Linked DNA regions of Homo sapiens: region 2 is linked to region 1. The links are contacts of gene promoters, found by promoter capture Hi-C in human tissues and cell types (Jung and others, 2019). All regions are on one chromosome and are shown on one strand. The core of a region is centred on a gene start or on the middle of the fragment in contact, and the rest is flanking DNA. Distances in the headings are between cores, read along the strand shown.

Region 1 (4,960 bases), core at 884-3,383:
CCATATGGCTCTCTTTTATAATCCCATACCACAACTCCTTTACACTCATATACACACACAAATTAAGGACTAGTTCAGAGATTATTAACATAATACTCAAAATAAAAAAATTTCATCTAAGTAAAGTTGTATCTTACTAGCAAACTTCTAAGAATCCCAGATGAATTCTTTCCTGAAAAGCTTACTAAATCTTACTGTTTGGTCAACTTGCTTGCCTTAAAATGTGCCACAATGTCTTCCTAAATTTGTTTTTGTTAACTCTGACACATCTGCTTGTAAAATCACGTAAGGCTCAAAAGTTATGTTTGAGCAAAAAAAGAAAATTCATGTTAATATTAACAAACTCTTGGATTCAAATCTTGTTCTACCGTATCAAGCTATGTTCAACACGGAACAGTGAAGTTAGCTAGGAACCGGAACAGTGAAGTTAGCTAGGAACTGAAAATGATACGATCTCATAACTATCTAGTTACCTTGTCAAAGCAAGTAAAACATAAAAGATGAATCAGGACAAATGGCTAAAGGGAAGAGAAGAATATAATCAAGGTGTTACTACTAACAGAGATAAGTGTTTTTTTTTTTCTCGAAAGCATACTTCTTAAAAGTGGCAGATTCTTGCTAGACGTACCAAACCATTTGTGGAAACTATCAGTTAACTTTTTACTTAAATTTTTAATCACTGATTAAACCACAGTTTTGTACTGGATCCAAACCAAATGGCCAGATGCCATAAGAAACGGCTTTATTTATATGTCACCCTCTCCTTGTCTATTATAATCAAGTTGGTAGTTAAAGCTGAAATCTATACATTCAACATGTGGCTTGTGCTTCGGATCTGGACTAAGAATACAGCTCTAAGGAGTATCTGCTGAATTTGTACAGGAAAACCCTTTCCCCTCACACCACCCAAATTAGAAAGTTTACAAAAAGCGGAACCCTTCTGATGAGCTGAGGAAACTCCAGTATTTCCCAATGCAATACCAGGCCTCATCGATTTCATTCCTCTGCACATTCAGTGGCAGGAAATGGACTGCTACCATCGGTTCACACTATCAGCACGGTGAGATTTGCACAGTTTGTGCCTACTGCTTTTGAGCGTTCTTAATCAACTAAGTGGAAGTACTGTATGACTATGCCTATTACACACACTCGACAGTTGGTGGTACCTCACCCAGCCTCAAACTCCCACGCGCCCCCACCCTTCCAAAGAAACATTTCTTGGGAGAGCACATGGAGAGAGGCAAGGAGGAGGAAAAAGGCACGTAGGCGCCTCTTCCTGAGATTTCTGGTAAAGTAGAAAGACTGGGAGCATAAATAGTGTTCTTCTTGATTTGCGAAGCTGTAGGTGGGCTCCCAAGGACTTGGAATAAAAAGGAGGGAGGTTCCCCTGCCCCGGACCCTACGCGTTAGGAGGCAAAACAGCAACTAACAAGAAGTGGGAGGAGAATGGAATCGCGCAAAGGTTTGCGCCCACAAGTTAGACAAACAACAGCCCTACCCAGTACTCGGGGTGTCCCCAAGTTGGGGCTGGGCCTTTCTCCTTCCCGCACCGCCTCCCGGGCTGACAAGAGTGAGAAAGGGGTTAAGTAGAGAAGGGGGTGCTCTTCCGCCCCCACGCCGTCTCCGCGCCTCGGCGTGGCCACTCCTTTAGCGGCTCCCCGAGTTGCACAGCGAGGTCGCGGTCATCCTTGGGAGGGGGCCCCGGGTGCCCCCGTGTTCAATGGCAGGAGGATCCCGGGGCTCTCCCTGTCCCTAAGGCCGGCGGGGGCTGCGGGAGCACTCACCAATTTGGGTTTGTTTTTCGTTTCCTCTTCATTGGCGGCCCGGTTCCCCGCGCTCCGCTTGTTGCTCCGGCCCCCACCGGGTTCCTCGCTGCCGCCTCCCGCTCCCGACGCCGCCGCCCCGGGCTGCTCCATCTTTCTCCGGCCCTGTCACCTGTGCCCTGTAACCCCACCTCTCCTCAACTGAGAAAGCACCTCGGGGCGCTCACACTGCCCCGCGCTGACTCGGCGGCACCTCTTCCTGAGGGAGAGAGTGTCTGCCCGGGAAGCTGCCGATTTCAGGCCCCCGGGACTCCAGGCTCCCAGGCACCCCCGACGCAACCACGCCGTTGCCACTACTCGGCGCTGGGGCAAGCCCTGCCCCTGAGCAGTTGCAATTACCACGGTCGCCGCCGCCCTCAGGGCGGTGTTTAGGGTGGAGGGAAAAGTAGGTGCCTATCTCTTTAAGAGGGCCTCAACACACGTGATTCTTCAAAGTGCCCGCATCGGCCGCCCGGGCGCGCAAAGCTGCTTCCTACTCCCGCAGCCGAGCCGGCCCCAGCTACTGAGCATGCCCGGCGCGGTGACTGGAGCCTAACAGAGCACTTTCAGCTGCGGTTAGGCACTGATTTCACTTCCTAGTGGCCCAGCGAGAACAGGGAGGGAACTAGTCAAGAGAAAGGAAGGGTAGCCCATTTTAGAGATGGGGAAACTGAGGCCCGGGAAGATCCGCCTGTAAGTTTCACTGGCGGGTCAACCTGAGTATCAGCTTTCACTTCTGTGGGCCACAGCACCTTCCCTCCCTGAGGCCTCTCCGGGGGTGTGGTCCTGCTACAGTCTGTGGAAAGACTTGATTGGCAAGGGAACTGGCATCCTATAGGAAAACCACCGGGAGTGCTGATTAATTGCCTCGACAGACTGTGTGTGGGTCAGAGTGGAAAGAGTGAGTGCTTTCTGTTGTCGTGATTACGTTGTGACCGAAGAAATACAGTTGTTCCTTTATTCCCTTGCTGCAGGGTTGTTGAAGCAGCAGGCGCCCACCGCTTAATCCCTAGGGGATTGTTAGGTTCTATAACCAAAACACTTACATACAGCTAGCAATTGAATTGAGTGCTATTTTCAGGTTCCCGAACTAGTTTAGAGTTGTTGTGGGGAGTGAATAAGATCATGTGTGTCAAAGCTTTGTTGTAAATGAAAATCCCTAGACAAATGCTAGGTGTTTTTGTGCAGCAGCAGGGCACTGTTGGGACGATAGTCTTAAGTCCTTGCGTCATACCTAGCATTTTGTCCTCAGGACAAAATATAGTACCCACACTGTATTTCTTCCATCCTCTTTAAATGATGCCCTTTAAAAGTAAAGGTACACACTGAGAACATTAGACGGGGTGGGTAGGATTTGAATGAACCACCATCATAGAATAGGAGCACATATGCTAGGAAAGCTACCTATAAAGTAAATTTAAATATGAAATCTATAAACATGCCATACACCTATTACTGAAGATATCTCCAGACTATGACTCCTTTTGACCTTCTCCCCTTCGGCCTAAATTTAATATGCTGAATGGAATTTGTATCTGAACATATTTATTGAGAGTGCATTAGGATGCATTTGACCATGCTATAGGTGCAAGGAGACAGCTAACTTGGGCAGTAGAATGAAAAGAACACCAGATATCTGAAAACAGCTTTAATTCTAGCTTTGTCATTGTCATTAACTTTCTTTTTTTTTTAATTCTGAGACAGAGTTTCCCTCTTGTTGCCCAGGCTGGAGTGCAAAGGTGCAATCTCAGCTCACCGCAATCTCCACCTCCCGGGTTCAAGCGATTCTCCTGCCTCAGCCTCCCAAGTAGCTGGGATTACAGGGACCCACCACCACGCCCAGCTAATTCTGCATTTTTAGTAGAGATGGGGTTTCTCCGTGTTGGTCAGGCTGCTCTCAAACTCCTGAGCTTAGGTGATCCGCCTGCCTTGGCCTCCCAAAGAGCTGGGATTACAGGCGTGAGCCACCGTGCCCGGCTGACTTTCTTTTTAATCATGGAGGTGTGACTTCTCTACTCCTAAGGTGGCAAGCTACCAAAGGACAGCAGAGAAGAGGGAATACATGCTCCCAAACAGGGTGCTCAAGGAGCCCCATGGTAACTTTGCTTTGTTGAAGTTCCCGTTTTACTTACTTAAAGTTTAGTGTATATTTTGAATTCAACTCACTACATACACACACACACAAACACAATTTATATAAATGTCTCCTCTCCTGAAAAATTGAGTCAAAATGGGTGCTTCAGAAAGACATGACCTGTTTAGCCAATGCGTAATTCCTGTTTGTGCCATAGGTGTGGTCCATAGCTGAGGGCCCTCCAAGCGCAAACATGGTTCAGTAATCTGCCCAGTAGACATTTCTTCAGCTCCTTAGAGTACACTAGGTGATACAGAGTGTCATGAGTAAGAAGGATGAAGATGACACAGTTTCCGCCTTTTAGAACTTCAGAGCCTACTGGGAGAGACAGACCATTAAAGAACTGCACTGCACTATAACAGATATGAACAGGAAGCCTTTGAAGCACATGAAAGAGGTAACTATCGGAGTGTCAGAGGCTCAGGGACACCTTCCCAAAGAAGATGATGTTTGAGCTGAGTCTTAAGGGTCTGATTCAAGTTAACATTTGTTGGCAGCCTACTAAGTGTGAGGTACTGTGCAAGGCATCATGAGTACAGTGGTGAACAAGACAGACATGGTTTGGTCTTAGGGAGCTTTCATGCTATCGGGAAAGATATATATAGTTTCACTCTTATTGCCCAGGCTAGAGTGCAATGGCGCAATCTCAGCTCACGGCAACCTCCGCCTCCCAGGTTCAAGCGATTCTCCTGCCTCAGCCTCCCGAGTAGCTGGGATTACAGGCATGTGCCACCACGCCTGGCTAATTTTGTATTTTTAGTACAGATTGGGTTTCTCCATATTGGTCAGGCTGGTCTCAAACTCCCGAACTCAGGTGATCCGACTGCCTTGGCCTCCCAAAGTGCTGGGATTACAGGCATGAGCCACTGCGCCCAACCTTGGGAAAGATATTAAAAATGTATTAAGCAATTACAAGGCAAATAAGGACAGTGAAGGGCATTCAGGCAAAGGAAATGACAATAGCATGTGCAGAAGCCCTGTGGTTAAGAAATTGGTGGGGAGCTGGGGAGACTGTTGGCAGGAG
Region 2 (4,960 bases), core at 884-3,383, 34 kb after region 1:
GTGGACAACTACTCAGAAACCAAAATGAAAGAACTATGGATCCACACAACAATATGAATGAATCTCAAAATAATTATGAGTGAAAGAATCCAGACTAAAAGAGTACTTATTGCCTGATTCCATTTATTTAAAACTATAGAAAATGCAAATTAGTCTATAGTGTCAGAAAGAAGATCAGTGGTTTCCAGATTGGGGACAGGGTATGGGGAGAGGCAGGATGACAATGAGAAAACATTTTGCAGTAATGAATGTATTCAATACTTCAATTGTGGTGGTTTCACAGGTATGTATTTATTTTAGAATTTTCAAAATGTACAGTTTAAATGTGTGCAGTTCATTGTATGTCAATCGTACCAAAAACATAAAACTAATCTATGCTGTTTATGAAAAAACGTAGCTTAATGTTATAGACTCTACTTTCTCTACTATGTTCCCAGCAATCGAAATTGTTTCCTCTGCAAACAACACAGGAGGGTAGAGTTTCTAGACAGTGAGCAAGGAAAAAGGGGCTGGACAGTACAGCTAGAAGTTATACTTGGCCTCTGCTCCAGAGACTGGTTAGAAGGGAGAAAAAAACAGAAACATAAAGGAGCTTCAGGAAAAAATGGGAGGGTGGTGTGTCTAGATGAAGCATGATTGACAAAATGTTCATAATTTGTGTAGTTGGATGATAGGTATATGGGTTTTGTTACAGAAAAAGTGATATTAGCTTAACATGTGAGTTAACAGAAGAACTAAAACCCAAAATATTTGAAAGTGATTGTATCCTGGGAATCAAAATGTGGGAAAGAGGGGCAGCCATTCTTTACTGATTGAATTTATAATGATTAAATTTGTATGTTGATTTTTTAAAAGCAATTTTGCAGAAGGAGGATTGATTAGTCAACATTAGGCATGTGTTAAAAAATGTTCACCTTCCCTTGTAAAGTCACTAAGTTGTATAAATCAATTAATGATTAATGCAGTAGTTTAGCAATTTTGATAATCACTTGTTTTTTGACAGCTGAAGTTTTTTCAAAATTCTGATTTATCTTTATTTGTACAGTTTGGGTAGAGGAAAAGAATTCTAAATTTGGAAATTATAAGTACTCAGACATTTGAAAGCTCTTAGGCTTTTATTTAAGAATATATAATTTTGGTAGAGCTTTATGAGCTGAAAAGAATTGTCAACATAATATATATATATATGTATGTCCTGGGCTCAATATATGTATATATCACCATAGGCTGGGTCTGGTGGCTCATGCCTGTAATCCCATTGCTTTGGGAATCAGAAGTGGGAGGTTCCTTGAGCCCATGATTTTGAGACCAGCCTGGCAACGTGGCAAAACCCCGTATCTACAAAAAATAAAAAGAAAATTAGCTTGACGTGGTGGAGTGTGTCTGTTTTTCTAGCTGCTCAGGAGGCTGAGGCAGGGCGATCCCCTGAGCCCAGGAGGCCAAGGCTGTAGTGAACAGTGATGGTGTCACTCCACTTCAACTTGGGCAACAGAGCGAGACCCTGTCTCAAACAAAGAAACAAAACCAAAACAAATACCTTGTACTTCTAGGTGAGAGGCATTTTTATCATATTCCACATCACTATGATCTCTCTTTGCATAATAGGGAGAAAAATTTCAGAAATGAGAAAATTCAAGAAAGGAAAAGAATGTCTTCATATTCCTCTTGTTTCATCACTCTACTTCGGGCGAATCTTTGATTAAAGGAATATATATATATATTTATACACATACACACACATATATATACATATATATATACATACACATATATGTATATATCTTAACATCTATAAATTTGGGAGATTTTGGGTTCTGAGGATTCAGAAAAGGGTTCTGAATTCATTGTGAATTCAAAATAGGTGATCCAAATGGTACCCTCACTTACTAAAGAAATTGGTTGCTAATAAACCAAAGAAGATAAAAACACAAGAAATGCCATACTGGATCATATCAGCATCTCTTTAGAAGTGATACTAAAATAAATCTTTGTGGGAGAACCCTGTGCTTCTGTTCAAAGTAATTAACCTCAAAATATTTTTCAAAACACCCTCAATATCCCAAAACATCTTTTCATATCTCATTAGGAATCTATAATCACTGAATTTACCCAAATCTTTCTTTGACCTATTTGAAGTGGAGGGTGTGCAGCAAAGTGTTAAGGGCACAAACTGCAGTCTGTTAAGTTTAGCCTAAAGCTTCCTCCTTTTAAGTTCAGCCTAAAGTTTTCTCCATACATAGTGAACTGTAACCTAACTGGATGTATAACCTATTCTTGTACCAATCTCCAAGGTTCAGCCAATCAAAGGCGGCCAACTGTTCAAACTCTGTGCAGTGTAATAAGACACTCTTACCAATACAGCTGTTTCTGTATCTCACTTTCATTTTCTGTACATCACTTTACTTCTTTTGTGCATAAATTACCCCCAACCATGTGGCAGTGAGCTAGAGTCTCTCTGAACCTATTCCGGTTGCAGAGAAGGGGGCAAGGGGTGGGGAGAGTGACTGCCTGATTCATGAATCATTATTTGCTCAATTAAATTCTGTTAAATTTAATGTATTTCAAGTTTCTCTCGTAATACGTCAAACAAACCTGGGTCGGACTCTTAGATCTTGGACAAGGAATTTCTATGAACCTCAGTCTCATCATTTGTAAAATACAGATCATTAAAGTAACTACTTCACAAGTATGTTGTGATATTCAAGGAGAAGATTCATGCAAAACACTTAGTATAGGGTCTGACAGTCAATACTTTATATGTAAGTCATTGTCATTTTGTATTTTCAGCATGTATATTTTCTTGGTGTTTACCATTATTAGTACCAGATCTATTCTATTCATTAAAAGAAAAATTCTTTTTATAATAAAGGCTGAGCTTTAAAAGGATGAAATAGTCAATCATCCACATAGCATGATTTCTAAGAGTATCAGGAAAATACCAACCCCTTCGTTCCCCCAGTCCCCACATGAACACAGCATACTCTTCTATTCACTTCCATTCCACCAATAAAGTGCTATCTCTTTGCTGACTTGGTTGAAATTCAGTTCAAAATTCAAATGTTCCCATTGTACATTGAAACTATAGATTAAACAAAGAATCTAAGGCTGATTTTGATTCTCTGGAAAGGAGAGGCTAGCAAAGGACTGAATGGAAGAAGCTGGGTCAAGTAATGCTAGTAACTACCAGGAAAATCTAACTCTCCCCTCCTTTACATCGTGGTTAAGGAAGCTATTTAGTGCACTGGTTCTCAAATAGTTCTGACAAATAGAATCACTTGGGTCATTTGCTCAACACTGGACTCCCAGATCTTTCCCCTGGGATTTTGTAGGTTTAGGACAGGGCTCAGGATTCTGAAGGTTTAATGAGCATTCAAAGGATTCCTAAGAGCTGACAAGTTTGAGAAGTGCTGGAGTGATTAGGGGCCCAGGGTTTGGAATCAGACTACACCTGAATTCAAATCCTAGCTCCCCCTCTTGGAGATGGCTGACCATGGAATTAATTGGCCACCCTCAACCTCAGTTTTCCTCCCGCAAAATGTTGCATTGGGATTAAATAAGTTAATATATGTAAGACATTTGTCTCACAGTGAGCACCGAAAAAATTGTTGGCATTATTATTGTGTTTAGTTTCAATTCATTTATACTTATATATGAATCCTTAGAGTCTCCTGGGCAAGGTGCCAAAGTGGCCAATGATTTTCAAGAATTTTTTGTTTGCTCTCTAACACGTCCTTATCTTTGAAGCCAGAGTTAGAGAAATTAGCATTGTTATTTTGATTAGCTGTTGTGGGTCACCTTTTATATCTTTATGCCTTATCATGTAAATTAAGCATTCAGAGTGTCTGAACATTCCAATTCATACCCTCTACCATAGGCACTGGACATCACCTGTCCCTGGAATGTTGATTTTCAAGGCTTCTCTTTGAGTTCCAACTTGAAAAGACCCAAGAACACTCTCTTATCAGTTTCAGTTTAAGCAGGGCTTTGAAAGAGCTTCAGAGTTTGACCTCCATGTTAGAAGGGGTAGGTGTCAGAGAAACAAGAAACAGAAATGGACAGACAGTAGAAGAGAAAGCAGGGATAAAGTTAAAGACATACCTACAGCAACAAGGAAAAGACTGAAAAAGACACTAAAAGACAGATTGACAGTGCCAGATAGAGGAGGGAAGGAGGTGAGAAGACAAAGTCAATGATGGAGAAAACAGACAGAGGCACAGAGAGAGCTAGACATAGGGATTTACATAGGAATAGAGATAGGCATGGGCACAGAGAAAGAAACCAAGGTATGTGCTAGGATGAAAGCTTCTCTTGTTACTAATACAAGTAGGTTTCATGTAGGGAATTTCCCTGGCAATTGAGGAAAGGGGAAATTCATTCGTTCCACGCAATTTTAAAGTCATTGCTATAGGAAAGGCACTGCTAGGTACCATGTGGAAATATAAGCTTTCCATCCCCCTAGGTGGGGGAAGTAAAAGTGTGATAAGGCAGAATGCAATAAGCAGCTTTAAAATGTGAGGCCCTTTTTAGTCCTGAGAAGGAAAGAATACATTCAGTTGAAGGATGAAGGAGGTGTTACAGCATTGGTGCTGAACCCAGAGGGATGAGTACAGATTTAACAGATGGAGGGGGAAGGAATTTTCAAACAATAGGAAGAGCATTAGTAAAAACTTTGAGCAAGGAAAACAAGGGGCATGTTCAGGAAAGAAGGAATGGTATAATTTGGCTAAAGTTTATAAGTAGGGAAACACTGGGAAAAACTAAAAAGTCATTTTGTGTGCAAGAGGAGGAGCTGAAGGTAAGATTGAGGAGAAAGCAAAGGTTTTGGACAGGGGAGTAACAAGCCTGTGGAAGAATTAGGAGGAGGAGGCCTGGAGGGTATAAGTGGAGACATGAAGGAGACTGTTGCTATTGTATGTTCTGGAAGGTAAATCCTATCAAATGTCTCCTGATCATTCCTCCT

The links. Contacts are between HindIII fragments. The study calls those that stand out against the background at their distance.
Region 2: a contact is called between a fragment that was not itself captured here and the fragment with the promoter of DIAPH2 in region 1, in 2 of the 25 tissues and cell types used here (hippocampus and stomach).

What each region holds. Positions count from the first base shown.
Region 1 is chrX:96,682,015-96,686,974 of GRCh38, reverse strand. It overlaps DIAPH2 (diaphanous related formin 2), which reads right to left and starts at 2,133. Exons shown (of 27, transcript NM_006729.5): 1 at 1,785-2,133. The coding sequence starts at 1,916. RefSeq lists enhancers at 916-1,629, 1,630-2,345. The HindIII fragment of the contact is 18,479 bases long and covers 1-4,960 here.
Region 2 is chrX:96,647,597-96,652,556 of GRCh38, reverse strand. No RefSeq gene overlaps it. Among named protein-coding and RNA genes, the nearest start is that of DIAPH2, 35 kb to the left of the region's middle. The HindIII fragment of the contact is 7,113 bases long and covers 1-4,960 here.